Linked DNA regions of Homo sapiens: region 1 is linked to region 2. Evidence: promoter capture Hi-C in 16 types of primary human blood cells and fetal thymus (Javierre and others, 2016). All regions are on one chromosome and are shown on one strand. The core of a region is centred on a gene start or on the middle of the fragment in contact, and the rest is flanking DNA. Distances in the headings are between cores, read along the strand shown.

The links. Contacts are between HindIII fragments. The CHiCAGO score rates a contact against its expected background, and 5 or more counts as called.
Region 1: a contact is called between a fragment that was not itself captured here and the fragment with the promoter of ATP1A1-AS1 in region 2, in 1 of 17 cell types (total B cells). The highest score is 5.5, in total B cells.

Annotation. Positions count from the first base shown.
Region 1 is chr1:117,932,897-117,935,596 of GRCh38, forward strand. It overlaps WDR3 (WD repeat domain 3), which reads left to right. Exons shown (of 27, transcript NM_006784.3): 2 at 392-594; 3 at 1,577-1,786. The coding sequence starts at 424. Among named protein-coding and RNA genes, the nearest start is that of WDR3, 4.5 kb to the left of the region's middle. The HindIII fragment of the contact is 2,966 bases long and covers 1-2,700 here.
Region 2 is chr1:116,417,351-116,420,120 of GRCh38, forward strand. ATP1A1-AS1 (ATP1A1 antisense RNA 1) reads right to left here and starts at 1,272. Exons shown (of 3, transcript NR_027646.1): 1 at 1,109-1,272. RefSeq lists an enhancer at 1,097-1,391 and a silencer at 1,351-1,480. The HindIII fragment of the contact is 1,476 bases long and covers 402-1,877 here.

The DNA of each region.
Region 1 (2,700 bases), core at 1-2,500, 1.5 Mb after region 2:
ATCAACAGTTGGTGTTGTTCTGGCGCAGTGGCTAACACCTGTAATCCCAGCACTTTGGGAGGCCGTGGCGGATGGATCACTTGAGGTGAGGCTTTCGAGACGAGCCTGGCCAATATGGTGAAACCCCATCTCTACTAAAAAAAAAAAAAAAAAAAAAATTAGCCGGGTATGGTGGCACATGCCTGTAGTCCCAGCTACTCGGGAGGCTGAGGCAGGAGAATCGCTTGAACCTAGGAGGTGGAGTCAGCTGTGAGCCAGGATCCCACCACTGCACTCCAGCCTGGGCAACAGAGTGAGACTCTGTCTCAAAAACAAAAAAACAGTTGGTGTTTACTAACCTAGTAGAACCAAGGCACCCAAGGAGCTGAGTTTTCTTTGTTTATATGCACAGATTGCTTCACCTGTGGTATCAGACATCACAACATGGGGCTCACCAAGCAGTACCTACGCTATGTTGCTAGTGCGGTCTTTGGCGTTATCGGCAGCCAAAAAGGTAATATTGTCTTTGTGACACTTCGTGGTGAGAAAGGACGTTATGTGGCAGTACCAGCTTGTGAACACGTTTTCATCTGGGACTTAAGGAAAGGAGAGAAGGTGAGCCTAAAATGACCAGTTTGATACTGATTTATTGGTATTTGAGGATGGAGAGGTAGTAGAAGTGGGGGGGCTCTGATTTATTTATCATGAGTTTTTTTGTGTCTGTGCCCTTAGAAGAAAAATCTTTTTCCTTTAGGTCTAGCTAGCCAAGCATCAAGTTCCTTTGTGTTCTTCGCCACTGAATTCTGAAAACCACAATGAAATAGGAGCTTATTTCTTAGATGTCTATTTGTTGGAATATTTACAGGTCATTATTTGCAGTAATTATTTATTCCTGATGTATTTTTTCTCTACCAATTCTATTTTTCAAGCTCGACTTATGCTTATAGCTGGTTATAAAATATTAGGCATGTAAAAGGAAGGTTAGTCTATTTTGGCAGAATCTTTTTCTAATATGGATAATGCCCAAGTGTTGTTAAAGTAGACTTTGATACTTTGTGTGACTGAATTCCCTAAGCCTACCACTTTTGCCAAACCAAATATAGGCATTTTGATATTGTCCATTCATTTTGTGATTCCCAAGAGGTTAGTACTTTGATTCTTGTTGCCACCAAGAGTCCTTTGTGGTTAAAACCACTGCAGTACTCTGTTGCCACACAGATTATTTTCTTATAAAATGGGTCTCAGTTAAAGGAATTTATAAACCTTTATTGAAAATCACGTAGTGTTGTTCTAGGGTTAAGAATTAGATTAAAGGGATTAAATTTATTTTATTGCCTAGGGAGTTTTTATATGTATTACAACAACGTAGGGCTTTGGAGAAAATAATTAAGCCTTTTCTTAAATGTTTCATTGCCTAGTACAAATACTAATTTCTATATTAAAAAACTTGAAATGGATTGTGGAGTTTCATTTTTATTCATAAGAGTAATTTGGAATTATTGGTGCTCTTAATTTTACTGTGCCTGAGTATTCCTATGCTTTTCCCTTGAGTTCATGCTTAACTCTTCTACATTGTTTTTAATTTTTATGATTTCAGATTCTTATCCTTCAGGGGCTTAAACAAGAAGTTACTTGCTTATGCCCCTCCCCAGATGGGCTACACTTAGCTGTTGGGTATGAGGATGGGTCGATCCGAATCTTCAGTCTCCTGAGTGGGGAAGGAAATGTGACCTTCAATGGTCACAAAGCAGCTATCACTACCTTGAAGTATGATCAGCTAGGAGGCAGACTGGCATCTGGGTCCAAGGTGAGCCTTTGAATCAGCCCAGGCTTTGATCTATTAAAGGAATGTAAGGCTTATGCTGAAGCAAGTTGTTGACAAAAATTGTCAGGTAAAACAATGGGCTGTCAATATACAAAGTAGTATAATGATAGAGTGAAGAGGATGGGTGTGAATTGGGTGGTTCATTTTGTTTCCTTTTGTTCATTTTGTCATATTTTCTGATAAAAGCCTCTTAAGTGTAGGAATAAGATGAAGAGAGCCATGATAACTCTTATTGTGGAAGTGCTACGCAAAACAGTAAAATAAGGAAAGAAAACAAAGACTGGAAAAGAAGAGACAAAATAATTATTTGCCATTGACTTCTGTAAAGTCAGTAGAATTTCCTGTATCTCACAAGTCATGAGTTAGAAAATATAAAAGATTCCATTCACAACAGATTAAGTAACAGACATAAAAATACCATGAAACTTTACTGAAGAATGGAATAGAAGACTTTTATAGAGATATAATCCATGTTCTTGAATGGGAAGACAAGGTATTGAAAAGATGGTAGTGTTTTCTAATTGATTTATATAGCTAAAGCTATGTTTAGACATATGTTTATATAGATACAGATATATTTAAATAGATATCTTAAAGGTTTTAGTTGTTACTTAGAACTTGACCTAATATGGAAAAGCAAAGGAATTGGAAACACTAAAATTTGGGAAGAAAAGAATAATAAAACAGGGGTTTTAGATATTAAAATGTCATATAAACCCATAATTTAAGAAGTATCATATTGATACTTCAATGCAAGTACCAATGCAAAATAGATTATTGCAACCAAATGGAAATCTCAGAAACACATCCATGATTACATTCCTAATTAGTATATTTTAAAGACGACATTTTAATAAGTAGAAAAATGATAGATTACTTATAAAACAGTCCTTAGA
Region 2 (2,770 bases), core at 22-2,521:
TTTTTATATTTTTTGTAGAGATGGGGTTTTTGCATGTTGCCAGGCTGATTTCAAACTTCTGAGCTCAAGCCATCTGCCTGCCTTGGCCTCCTAAAGTGTTGGGATTATAGGCAAATGAGCCACCACGCCAGCCCACAATTCACTTTAAACACAAGTGAAACACATTTCATTAGACAGTGGAATAGACTTATGTCAATTTTCTTTTCTCTCTTATTTTACACAGTCTGATTTCCTGAAGACAGGAGGCGGGAGTAAGCTAATCAGGCCCTGAGTTAGCTGTTTCCAAGAAGCTTAGAGTGTCCCACTTACCTACGGGTTGCAGGGCCCGCATTGCCAGTAGGGCTGGCTTTTAGGGATGCTGCTGTTGGTGTGTGCTGTACTTGTTTTCTAGGATTGGGACAAGCTTCCTTGAGCTCCTGACTTTAGAGACCAGGTTTGGGAACTGATGGGTGCAGCAAATGCAAACAGACAGCAAACAGGCCAAAGAGGAGATTCATTCACTGAAGAGGGCCCTGGTACAGTACTGTCGAGGTTTTGCGGTGGCCTGGACACGGCTGGCTCCTTCGACTTACACAATATATCTTCTCTCTCTCTTACCTGCACTTATAAGAATCGGTGCTAAGGGTATGTGCCTACCACAGTGCAGCTTGTAGATTAATGAAGAAAGAATTGCTGCCACTTCCCAAATATTAAACGCCAGGTTCTGCCTATGCATATTCTCTCAACCTTCACAACACACCTACTAACTCCAGCTTACAAATGAGGAGACGAACCAGCAGGCTGTTCCAGGCGTCTGGTTGTAAGAGCAGTGGCAGTAGAGAAAATGATTTATTTTAGCACCAGCCACTGTGCTAATCCCTTTAGATATCATCTCATTTAATCCTTTTAACAACCCTGAAGCACCATCCTTATTCTAAAGGGACTTCGGACCTCTCTGCGGTCCACACTGTCCCCTGCTCGGTGCAGGAGTGTAGACTGGGACTGTTCCGTCTGGTGGTCTCCCCGACAAGGGTTCACCTGGAAACTGGCCTTTGGGCTGGGATTGGGACTCTGTACTTAGGCTGGCAGCCCATATTAGGACTGGGCACCGTGATAAGCACTTTCTTACCGCAAATGCACGATTTCACTCGGCCCTCACACACCCCACGAGGTGGGCACCGTCACAGTGCCATCTCACAGGCAAGGAGGCCAGGCCCAGGCCCTGAGGATGCGCCGCTCAGGTGGGAGCTTCCGGGGAGCTCGCGCGACAGCCTGGGGGAGCGCGGATTCGTCTCTGCGCTACGGCGGCTGCAGAGGGTCAACCCGCGGAGGCGGCGCTTCGCGGCGGGTCCTCGGCCTGAGGCTGTGGGATGCCTCCAAACCCGGCGCGGCCTCCGTCTGCAAGGAGAGCAGAGGGTCCCCGCCGGGAGCGCGCCCGGCTGCGGCCCCAGGCGGCCCTGCCCGCAGCCGCCACCTGAGCTTGGGCGCGGCTCCTATCTCCCACCCGCGCGTCGGCCAGTGAAGGGCTCCGTGCTTAAACATCATTCGTTACAGAAGTATTGCGGCCATCACACGGCATTTTAAAAACACGAATGATGATAAATAACTTTAACACTGCTTCCAATTCTGCCTCCAAGCACAGCATCATTACCATTTGCATGCGTTTCACTTCATTCGATTTCCATGTGTATGGATTTGTTTCTACATAGCTGTGGTAAAACGCACATACTAAACTGAATCCAGGGTTGTTTTCCACTTTGTAACATGAACATTTTCACCGTGTTAGTACTGACGCTTCCTACCTATAATTTTTAATGGCAGGACTTTAAAAAATTGGGTTGATACGCTGTCACTTCTCTGAGCATCTCGCAAATGTTCAACATTCAAGTGGCTTCCAAAGCTTCACGATTATAAATTATTCATTCTTTTTTGTTTTGTTTGGTTGTTTGTTTGTTTGTTTGTTTGTTTTTTGAGACGATGTCTCGCTCTTGTCGCCCAGGCTGGAGTGCAGTGGCGCGATCTCAGCTCACTGCAACCTTCGCCTTCCAGGTTCAAGAGATTCTCCTGCCTCAGCCTCCTGAGTAGCTGAGATTACGGGCATCTGCCACCACGCCCACCTAATTTTTGTACTTTCAGTAGAGACGGGGTTTCATCATGTTGGCCAGGCTGGTCTCGAACTTCTGACCTCAGGTGCTTCTCCCTCGACCCGGCCTCGGCCTCCCAAAGTGCTGGGATTACAGCACTTTGCTGCCCAGCCCATTCTTGTGTATAAAGTCCTTTCAGTATTGAGATCAGTTTCCTTAGGTTATATTCACAGGAGTGAAACTGCTAAGTCAGAATGTGAGCATTTAAAAGCTTTCAGTATTATTGCCAAATGGCTTTTCACAGATGACTCAGGGAGGTTTTGGTACTTGGAACACTGCTACTTATATCCCACTCCCCCCCCCCCCCACCAGGAAAACATCTAAAGTGCACTTTTTTTTTTTTTTTTTTTTTTTTTGTGAGACGGTATCTCGCTCTGTCGCCCAGGCTGGAGTGCAGTGGCGCGATCTCCGTTCACTGCAAGCTCCGCCTCCCAGGTTCACGCCATTCTCCTGCCTCAGCCTCCTGAGTAGCTGGGACTACAGGCGCCCGCCACCACGCCCGGCTAATTTTTGTGTTTTTAGTAGAGACGGGGTTTCACCGTGTTAGCCAGGATGGTCTGGATCTCTGACCTTGTGATCCGCCCGCCTCGGCCTCCCAAAGTGCTGGGATTACAGGCGTGAGCCACCGCGCCCGGCTAAAATGCAGT